Linked DNA regions of Homo sapiens: regions 1 and 3 are each linked to region 2. The links are contacts of gene promoters, found by promoter capture Hi-C in blood cells and fetal thymus (Javierre and others, 2016). All regions are on one chromosome and are shown on one strand. The core of a region is centred on a gene start or on the middle of the fragment in contact, and the rest is flanking DNA. Distances in the headings are between cores, read along the strand shown. Region 1 holds the start of ANGPTL8 (angiopoietin like 8). Region 2 holds the start of EPOR (erythropoietin receptor). Region 3 has its middle 8.3 kb from the start of ZNF627.

Region 1 (3,168 bases), core at 584-3,083, 140 kb before region 2:
GAATCGGGCTGGGGGATCTGCTGGGGGCTGGGGTCCCCACTGTCTGCCCCATCACCTCTGCCATGCCACGCCCTTATTGCTGCTAGGCCCCACTGTCTCTGCTGTCTGCCTCAGCTTCCCTCATTAGCACTCTGGGAGCCTCTACCTCTCTTCTTCCTGTCCCCCATCTTCCCATCGATGCTGCCTTATGTGTATATATAAGGGACATCCTCCTACCCCCATGAGTGCCCCCAAGTTCCTCACGTGTCCCCCTACATACTTGTTATGGTAGACCACCGGTGTGAAGGCCTCGCGGGTAAATTCACTGCAGCTGGACTTGCCAAAGATGACCTGGGAGAGTGGATTCATGAGGGACCCATGGGGGATGCCCTACCCCCCTTCCCTGGGGCACAGCCACTGACCGGCAGAGCCTGGCTGGGGTCCTCGCCTGTCATGTACTGCACTCGCACAGCAAGGTTGCGCACGGAGCCCTGGCGGCTGCTGAAGTTGAGGCTGTGCGGGTACACGTACAGCAGGTTCCTGTGGGGGGCAGGATGGGGGTGTCAGAGGGACAGGGGCCCTGAAGGTGCACATACAAGGCTGGGGTGATGGGACAAGGCTGGCTGGGAGCACAGACAGTCCAGGAAGAGTAGGTCATGAGGCTGGGGCATTGAGGGCCCGGTGAGAGGTAATACAGGTATCAGTCAGGAGATAGGACAGAGGGCAGAGGGTGGGGGACAAGCGAGCACCCTAAAAACACAGATTGGGAACAGTGTGGTAGAGGGTGGGAATACAGAAGGACATTGGAGGCACTCATGGGGCACAGTGACACACAGAAGGCAGAGAATAGCGAGGCACTCAGGGCCAGAGTTCCAAGGTACCTCAGGTGGCCAGTGGTCAAGCCTAAGCCCCACCCAAGGGCCTGACTGCCCTTCCCCCAGGAGGTCACTAGAGTTATGTGGCCTGTTTCTCAGGTGGGGAAACTGAGGCCAGAGTCCGAGTCCTGCCTCCTTCCCCCAGGGGCAACTCTGTGCAAGCCTTGACCCCTCTCTGGGCCTCAGTTTCCCTATGTGTATAATGGGCACTTCAGGCCTTCCAGCTGAGCCTTTGTAATGATACTGATGATGATAAATAACAACAATGACAATAATTGCACCAAACACTATTACTACAACAATGAAATAATCGCGCCTACTGTGTGCCAGGCTCTGTTCTAAGCACTCAACATGAAATAACTCATTTACTTCTCACAAGTAGCTCATGAGGCAGGACTAACATCACCGCCATTTTACAAGCAGGGAAACTGAGGTACTTGCACAATCACCCACGGAGTAAAATGGCAGTCAGTGGTGATCTGGGCATATGCAGGTCTTGGAGATCAGGCTGTGTGACCTTGGGAGAGTCTCTGCCACCTGCACCTGCCCCCTTGGATACTAACCAGGCCAATAAAAGCCCCCACGTGGCAAGTATGTGGGAGGGGAACAAGAGCAGATATTGTAATGGCAGGTCAAACAGCTCAGGGCAAACCATCAATGCTTATAAAATCTTTACTGTTATTACCATCATCATTGCGATGCCTATTCATAGATGGAGAAACAGGCTCAGCATGGTGAGTCTCAGGAACTCCCAGCAGGGTCTGGGGCCCGTCCTCTCCCAATGCCCCCCACCCACACCTGGCCCTGAGCCCCAGGAAGCGTGATCCCGGCGTGGCCTAGCCGGACATTCGCCTGATGCAACTATCGCACCACTGCCAGGCCCTTGTGCAATGCGGGGCACCAGGTCGGCCAGTTAACGATTGACTGGGGATCAGTGGGGGTATGAGGCATAAAAGGCTTCAGTGACAGTGCTGTGGCTATACCTTAGACCCTCAGTCATGCCAGTGCCTGCTCTGTGCCTGCTCTGGGCCCTGGCAATGGTGACCCGGCCTGCCTCAGCGGCCCCCATGGGCGGCCCAGAACTGGCACAGCATGAGGAGCTGACCCTGCTCTTCCATGGGACCCTGCAGCTGGGCCAGGCCCTCAACGGTGTGTACAGGACCACGGAGGGACGGCTGACAAAGGCCAGGAACAGCCTGGGTCTCTATGGCCGCACAATAGAACTCCTGGGGCAGGAGGTCAGCCGGGGCCGGGATGCAGCCCAGGAACTTCGGGCAAGCCTGTTGGAGACTCAGGTGGGCACCGTAGCTGCGACACTGTGGGGTGGCCAGGAGTCCAAAGAGGAGTTCGTGTCTAGGGTAACCAACCATCCTGGTTTGCCCAGGACTGAAGGGATTCCTGGGATACAAGATTTTCAGCGATAAACTCAGGCAAGTCCTTAGGTACACAAAGATGAGTTGGACATCCTACTAGTGACCCACTGTTTATTAAGCAGATGGAGGAGGATATTCTGCAGCTGCAGGCAGAGGCCACAGCTGAGGTGCTGGGGGAGGTGGCCCAGGCACAGAAGGTGCTACGGGACAGCGTGCAGCGGCTAGAAGTCCAGCTGAGGAGCGCCTGGCTGGGCCCTGCCTACCGAGAATTTGAGGTCTTAAAGGTAAGGAGCTCCCCCAACCCTAGTGGGCTGAGACCCTGATTTCCGGCCAGAACTCGCTTCTGCACCTTGAGTCCCAAAGACCTCCCAGATCAGCCTCCCAGCTCTGTGGCCTCTACCCTGCATGTCCCCAGACAAAACTCAAGTCCTTTTGTGTGCCTCAGTTTCCCTTTTGTGTGCCTCAGTTGCAAATAAGGGCAACACCTGATATCTCACAGTAGGGCCAGGTACTCAATGCAGGTAAAATATTCAGCATGGGGCGGGCACACAGTTGGTGCTCAATAAATTCTTTTTTTTTTTTTTTTTGAGACAGAGTCTCACTGTTGCCCAGGCTGGAGTGCAGTGGTGTGATCTTGGCTCACTGCAACCTCCACCTCCTAGGTTCAAGTGATTCTCCTGCCTCAGCCTCCTGAGTAGCTGGAATTACAGGTGCACCAGCTAATTTTTGTATTTTTTAGTAGAGATGGGATTTCACCATGTTGGCCAGGCTGGTCTCGAACTCCTGACCTCAAGGGATCTGCCTGCCTCGGTTTCCCAAAGTGCTGGGATTACAGGTGTGAGCCACTACACCTGGCCAATAAATTCTTACTACTAGAGAAACTGGTAACATTTTGTGAGCACCCAGTAAGTACCCAGCACTGTTCTATGCCCTTTAATAAT
Region 2 (3,627 bases), core at 808-3,307:
GTGGCGCGATCATGGCTCACTGCAGCCTCAAATTCTGGGGCTTAAGGGATCCTCCCACCTCAGCTTCCCAAGTAGTTGAGACCACAGGCACGCGCCACGCCTGGCTTTTTTTTTTTTTTTTTTTGAGACGGAGTTTCGCTCTTGTTGCCCAGGCTGGAGTGCAATGGCGCTACCTCGGCTCACCGCAACCTCCGCCTCCCGGGTTCAAGCGATTCTCCTGCCTCAGCCTCCCGAGTAGCTGGGATCACAGGCATGCGCCACCACGCCCGGCTAATTTTGTATTTTTAGTAGAGATAGAGTTTCTCCATGTTGGCCAGGCTGGTCTCAAACTCCCGACCTCAGGTGATCCGCCCGCCTCAGCCTCCCAAAGTGCTGGGATTACAGGCGTGAGCCACCGCGCCCAGTCTAATTTTTTTTTAAGAGACGGGGATCTCGCTGTGTTGCCCAGGCTGGTCTTGAACTCCTGGGCTCAAGCGGTTCTTCCGCCTCGACCTTCCAAAGAGTTGGGATTACAGGCATGAGCCACTGCTGGCCTCCTTTTGGATACTACCTCGAGAAGGCGTCCCAGCCCCGACGTAGTAACGCCTTACCCTCGATTTGGAGGCGTTGTTATCCCAGCCTGATGTTTGGGGTCGCGTTCCAGCGGTGATCGCGGGAGTGTTCGCGCCCCGGCCCATAGAGGGCGTGCCAGCCCTGGACCCGCAGGTTTCCCTCCAGTGACCACGACTGGAGGCGCCGTCGGGCCTCAAACAGCAGGGGACATACGAGGCTACGACCTCCAGGGAGCTCTGCCCCACCCCCTCCCTCCGCCCTTGGAGGCACCCGCCGGATCGGACTCACTCGAGCTGGTAGGAGAAGCTGTAGTTGCCCGGGCCCACCCCAGCGCTCGCCGCTTCCTCCCAGAAACACACCAAGTCCTCCAACCGCTCGGTGAAGCACAGAAGCTCTTCGGGCCCCCGGGCCGCCAGCAAGGCCGCTGGGGAGGGGCGACAAAGGAAGGGCATGGGGGTCTGAGCTCTATCCTCGGGAGACAGCCCCCTCCTCTTCCCTCCCGCAGCCTGGGCGGACCCGATAAGAAAAAAGCCCCGCCCTGCCATCTTCCCAAGCGGGTCCCTTGGAGGGGTCCGCAGAGGTGGTGCCCCCCTAATTCCCAGGGGCAAGTTTCTCGCCTTACTGTCCCCCGCCGTCACCACTGGCGCACACCTGCCCACCCAGCGGCCAGCTGAGCTGGGCGCGGCGTTCAAGACCTCGAGCTCGGGACTGCCAGCCCCGCCCCAGCCTAGGACACGCGCGCGGCTGGGGGTGTGTGCGGAGAGGCGGGCCCCCTATCGGCCCCGGCAGGCTCCCCGCCAACCGATAGCGCCAACCGTGCCCCCCGCCTCCCTCCCTCCACCGGGCCGGGCAAGTGATCTGGCGCCCTCACACAAACCGTGTTTACAGTAGCCTGTGGCTTGGCCCCTCTAACTCGGACCCGGGCTTTACCCTCCCTCCCCTAGGGAGGGTCGGCTTGGTCCCCACCCCCCAGGGACCTTAGCACCAAGTCAGCCCCCTTAGGATTTAGCATGTCCCAGACTCCCTGAAAAGGTAAAACGGGAATGTTAAGCCCACTCTAGCTCTTGCCCGGGACGCGATCAGGAGTCTTGGATCCTAACATACCCCACCCCGCCCCCCACCCATCCAGGACCCAGTCTAAGGGTTCAGATGCCAGCTTGGCCCCCAGGACCCGGTCAGGAAGTCCAGAAACAGGCATGGCCCCCAGGACCTAGGCTGGGAGTTCAGGCCCCAGCATGGTCCTGCAGGCTCCAGCGTAGGGGTCCACACGCAGCTCATCCTTACCTTTGCTCTCGAACTTGGGGTCCGGGAGGTTAGGCGGGGGCGCCCAGGCGGCCCCAGCGAGCAGGAGACAAAGGGAGCCGACCTGGGGCCAGAGGGACGCCCCGAGGTGGTCCATGATACAGCCCCCGCCACGGGGAGCCCAGGGCTCCTGCCCCTCCGTCCCCCGCCCCCGGCACAGTCCACAGCTGGGTCAGCAGCTGCCTCCGCCGGACGCAGCTGACCAGGCCCTTCCCGACCAGGCGCCTCTAAGTGGCAGATCCCCGAGGGGGCGGGGCCAGCACTCAGCCTGGGTAGAGATAAGTGCCTGGCGGGAGGAGGCAGGGGCCCTTCCCGAGCCCAGAGGCCGCTTGGGGGCAGGGGAGGGAGTTGGGCCGCAACAGCTCCCGTTCTGGCTTCAGACACACGTTTTTTTTTTCTTTGTGGCCCTGGACAGGTGACTTACCTTACCTGAGCTTCAGACTTCTCATCTGTAAAATCTAGCCTGGCACATAGCGAACATTCCAAAAAATGTACCTACTGATTTTATCGCAGAAATCAGCATCTCTTCCCAGCCTGGAAATAAATAAAAATTATTTTCTCTCTCTCTCTCTCTCTCTCTCTCTCTCTCTCTCCTTTCCTTCCTTCCTTCCTTCCTTCCTTCCTTCCTTCCTTCCTTCCTTCCTTCCCTCCTTCCCTCCTTCCCCCTCTCTCTCTCTGTCTCAGGGTGTTGCTCTGTCACCCAGGCTGGAGTGCAGTGGCACAATCATAGCTCACTGCAGCCTCTGGACTGAAGCAATCTTCCCACTGCACCTGGCTAATTTTTAAAATTCTTTGTAGAGATGGGATCCCACTATGTTGTCCAGGCTGGTCTTGAAATCCCGGACTTAAGCAATCCTCCAGCCTCCATCTCCCAATGTGCTGGGAATACCAGCACGAGCCACTGAAGCCGGCCAATAATAATCCTTGCAACGACCAGCAGTTGAGTGTTTGCACAGTGCTAGGCCATGCTCCTGGGCAGTATGCATAATATGTGAGATTTTCATTTACGAATTTTTGGGAAAAAAATTTTTACCACCCACATTTTTATTCTCTTGGGCTGGGCCCGGTGGCTCACGCCTATAATCCCAGCACTTTGGGAGGCCGACGTGGGCAAATCACTTGAGGTCAGGAGTTTGAGACCAGCCTGGCCAACATGGTGAAATCCCATCTCTACTAAAAATACAAAAATTAGCCAGGTGTGGTGGCGTGTGCCTGTAATCCCAGCTACTCAGGAGGCTGAGGCATGAGAACTGCTTCAGTCTGGGAGATGAAGATTGCAGTGAGCCAAGATCATGCCACTGCAACTCCAGCCTGGGCAACAGAGTGAGACTGCATCTCAAAAAATAATAATAATTGGCTGGGCGCGGTGGCTCATACCTGTAATCCCAACACTTTGGGAGGCCGAGACAGGCGGATCATGAGGTCAGGAGTTCGAGACCAGCCTGGGCAACATGGCGAAACCACGTCTCTACTAAAAATACAAAAATTAGCCAGGCGTAGGCCGGGCGCGGTGGCTCACGCCTGTAATCCCAGCACTTTGGGAGGCCGAGGTGGGCAGATCACGAGGTCAAGAGATCAAGACCATCCTGGCCAACATGGTAAAACCCCATCTCTACCAAAAATACAAAAATTAGATGGGCGTGGTGCTGCATGCCTGTAATCCCAGCTACTTGGGAGGCTGCAGGAGAATCGCTTGAACCCAGGAGCCGGAGGTTTCAGTGAGCCGATATTGTGCCACTGCACTCCAGCCTGGTGACAGAGCGGGACTCCGTC
Region 3 (3,620 bases), core at 87-2,586, 200 kb after region 2:
CCTCTGTACTTAGACCAAAAACAAAAAAAAACAAAAAAAAAACAAAAAATGAAAATTACTCTTGCCTGTAATCCCAGCATTTAGGGAGGCTCAGGTGGGAAGATTGCTTGAGCCTAGGAGTTTGAGACCAACCTGGGCAATATGGTGAGACTTTGTCTCCAATATAGATAGATGATAGACGGATGGATAGAAGATAGACAGATTAGACAGAGAGAGAGAGAGAAAGGAGAGAGAGAGAGAGAGAGAAAAGAGGGGAGGGGAGGGGAGGGGAGGGGAGGGGAGGGGAGGGGAGGAGAGGAGAGGAGAGGAGAGGAGAGGAGAGGAGAGGAGAGGAGAGGAGAGGAGAGGAGAGAGAAATTAGGCAGAGGAGAGGAGAGAGAAATTAGGCAGATGCCTTGGGCAGTGAAGTCCCTGGGGATGGTCTACTGTTCCCGCAGCCTGAGCGCCTTTTTCAGACGTTTTTATCTGTCCACTGCTGCCCCTGCATGGCCACAGCCTGAACTGCAGCACCGAACGCAGACCCAGTTTCCCTTTTGGAGAAGAAATTAATGCTCCTTCCAGCCCCCCACTTGCCACTAGGCCTGTGCAGGGCGTGGACAGATTCTACAGTGGATCCAGCCAGAGACTGCCCCAGAGAAAATTCCAGGGGTGGGATGAGTGAGGTATGCTGGGACTGGAATGTTTGTAGGATAACATGATGAGCAGCCGGATTCCCAGGAAATTGCAAACCGTGTCTGCTCTGGTGAGATTCTCAGAGGAGGGGATCTATAGGCAGTTCTGAGTAGGCACTGGGTAAAAGCCTGGAAAGAGGACCCTGGCTTGGATGGGGCTCTGCCTCACTCGCCATGAGCTCCTTGGCGCTATCAGTCAGCACAGTTCAGCTGCATGGGTGTGAAGGTGTCCTGGTGACTGGCTACCCCCATGCCTGCCTCAGTGCACGGGAGGTGGAATTATGGATTTGGTGGGGCTCGCACAGGCTAAGGGACTGATTTTCAGTCTGGAGAATGGGAGGGCAGGATGAGCTGTGGAGGGTCAGGCTGGTGGTTTGGAGGGTGGCATGATGTAAATGTAGCTGTTCACTGTTGTAGTTTGCTGCCACCAGTTCAGTCTGGCTAGGTTCCAGGTGGGTCAATAATCTCAAATGGGGCTGGGCTCAGTGGCTCACACCTGTAATCCCAGCACTTCGGGAGGCCGAGGCGGGTGGATCACTTGAGGCCAGGAGTTCGAGACTAGCCTGCCTAACATGGTGAAACCTCGTCTATACCAAAATATAAAAAATTAGCCAGGTGTGGTGGCGGGCGCCTGTAAGCCCAGCTACTCGGGAGACTGAGGCAGGAGAATGCTTGAACCCAGGGGGTGGAGGTTGCAGTGAGCCAAGATCGTGCCACTGCACTCCAGCCTGGGCGACAGAGCGAGATTCCACCAAAACAAACAAACAAACAAAATCCCAAATCGGGAGAGGTGAGGTGGGGTCTGTCATGCCAAGGAGTTGGTTTCTTTCTTTTTTTTTTTTTTTTTTGAGATGGAGTCTCAGTCTGTCACCCAGGCTGGAGTGCAGTGGCGCTATCTCGGCTCACTGCAAGCTCCGCCTCCCGGGTTCACGCCATTCTCCTGCCTCAGCCTCCCAAGTAGCTGGGACTACAGGTGCCCGCCACCACGCCCGGCTAATTTTTTGTATTTTTAGTAGAGACGGGATTTCACCGTGTTAGCCAGGTTGCTCTCGATCTCCTGACCTCTTGATCCGCCCGCCTCGGCCTCCCAAAGTGCTGGGATTACAGGCGTGAGCCACCGCGCCCGGCCAGGAGTTGGTCTTTATATTACCTAACTCCCACCTCTTTCCTCAATGATTTGAACGTTTGATCATTTGAATGTTTGAATGTTTGATCCTCGTGATCAAACATTCCCGTTACTCTCTAGACCCCATCATGCTCCCCCAACCCCTCCCCACATCCTCTCAGATATCCACCAGCTCTAGCCCCCAGAGTAAAAACATCCATCGTCTCCACCATCAAGTGAAAGCAAATGGTGACTTCCTTGCCTCAGCCATTGCTGAGCCAGTTGGATGGCAAGGAGGAAAACCCCACCCAAGCCCCACCTAACCCCTGTCCTCCTTTTCATCCCAGCCGGTGCCCACTGATTCCATGGTTACCTGACTTATCCACTCCAGCTCCTGGTCCTTCTATCCTGGGTACCGCTGAACTGCTTGGGAGTAGCAGGCTGAGAAGTTCTGGTGCCCCTCCTGCAGCAAGGCTGTCAGCGGGCACGGGAGGATGCGGGGACCGGCTGGAGTAAGCCATAGCCAGGGCAGGAAGGAGCCCCACACAGATCTCCCTCAGCTGTGAACTCCACAACGACCCACCTCACAGTCAACAACACCAATGGACACTCGTTCCTCTAATCCCGTTATTACTAGGCACCCATTTCTCTCCACCCAAGGTTTTGTTCACCATCCTCAATTATTTATTATTTTTTTGAGATGGAGTCCAGGCTGAAGTGCAGTAACGCAATTTCGGCTCACTGTAGCCTCTGCCTCCCGGGTTCAAGCGATTCCCCTGTCTCAGTCTCCCAAGTAGCTGGGATTACAGGCCCCCGGCACCACGCCCAGCTACTTTTTGTATTTTTAGTAGAGACGGGGTTTCCCCATGTTTGCCAGGCTGGTCTCAAACTCTTGACTTCAGGTCATCTGCCTGCTTCGGCCTCCCAAAGTGCTGGGATTACAGACGTGAGCCACCACGCCCAGCCGGTACCCCCAATTATTTCAGTATTCATGATCCGCAGGAAGGAATACATATGTTTTGTTGTTGTTGTTGTTGTTTTGTTTTGTTTCTTTTGTATTTTTAGTAGAGATGGGATTTTGCCATGTTGGCCAGGCTGGTCTCAAACTCCTGACCTCAGGTGATCCTCCTGCCTCGGCCTCCCAAAGTGCTGGGATTACAGTTGTAAGCCACCATGCCAGGCCATGAATACATATGTTTTATTGAGTTCTTTTTTTTTTTTTTTTTTTTTTTTTGAGATAGGGTCTCACTCTGTTGCCCAGGCTAGACTGCAGTGGCACCATCTGCTCACTGTGACCTCGACCTCTCAAGCTCAAGCGATCCTCCTACCTCAGCCTCCCCAGTAGCTGGGACTATAGGCGTGCACCACCATACCTAGCTAATTTTTGTATTTTTTGTAGAGACAGGGTTTGGCCATGTTGCCCAGGCTTCTTCTTTTTCAATGAATGTATTTACAGCTATAAATTTTTCCTTCTAGCACTGCTTTCTCTGCATTCCATACATTTTGATATGTTGGATTTTCATATTTGTCTCAAGGTTGTTTTTATTTTTTATTTTATTTATTTTTATTTTTATTTTTTTGAGACAATTTCCCTCTTGTTGCCCAGTCTGGAATGTAATGGCATAGTCTTCGCTCACTGCAACCTCCGCCTCCTGGGTTCAAGCGATTCTCCTGCCTCAGCCTCCCGAGTAGCTGGGATTACAGGTGCCCGCCACCACACCGGGCTAATTTTTGTATCTTTTGTAGAGATGGGGTTTCACCATGTTGGCCACGCTGGTCTCAAACTCCTGACCTCAGGTATCAGCCTCCCAAAGTGCTGGGATTACAGGCATGAGCCAATGTGC

What was found. The method cuts DNA at HindIII sites, captures the fragments that hold promoters and counts their contacts. A CHiCAGO score of 5 or more calls a contact.
Region 1: the fragment with the promoter of ANGPTL8 here is called in contact with the fragment with the promoter of EPOR in region 2 in 2 of 17 cell types (neutrophils and M1 macrophages); the score reaches 9.4 in neutrophils.
Region 3: a contact is called between a fragment that was not itself captured here and the fragment with the promoter of EPOR in region 2, in 2 of 17 cell types (total B cells and naive B cells). The highest score is 7.0, in total B cells.

What each region holds. Positions count from the first base shown.
Region 1 is chr19:11,237,786-11,240,953 of GRCh38, forward strand. It overlaps ANGPTL8 (angiopoietin like 8), which reads left to right and starts at 1,834. Exons shown (of 4, transcript NM_018687.7): 1 at 1,834-2,149; 2 at 2,350-2,511. The coding sequence starts at 1,853. It overlaps DOCK6 (dedicator of cytokinesis 6), which reads right to left. Exons shown (of 48, transcript NM_020812.4): 15 at 402-519; 16 at 260-330. RefSeq lists an enhancer at 1-160. The HindIII fragment of the contact is 20,410 bases long and covers 1-3,168 here.
Region 2 is chr19:11,382,257-11,385,883 of GRCh38, forward strand. EPOR (erythropoietin receptor) reads right to left here and starts at 2,058. Exons shown (of 8, transcript NM_000121.4): 1 at 1,837-2,058; 2 at 841-976. The coding sequence starts at 1,951. RefSeq lists a silencer at 1,298-1,357. The HindIII fragment of the contact is 13,821 bases long and covers 1-3,627 here.
Region 3 is chr19:11,587,330-11,590,949 of GRCh38, forward strand. No RefSeq gene overlaps it. Among named protein-coding and RNA genes, the nearest start is that of ZNF627, 8.3 kb to the right of the region's middle. The HindIII fragment of the contact is 6,110 bases long and covers 1-3,620 here.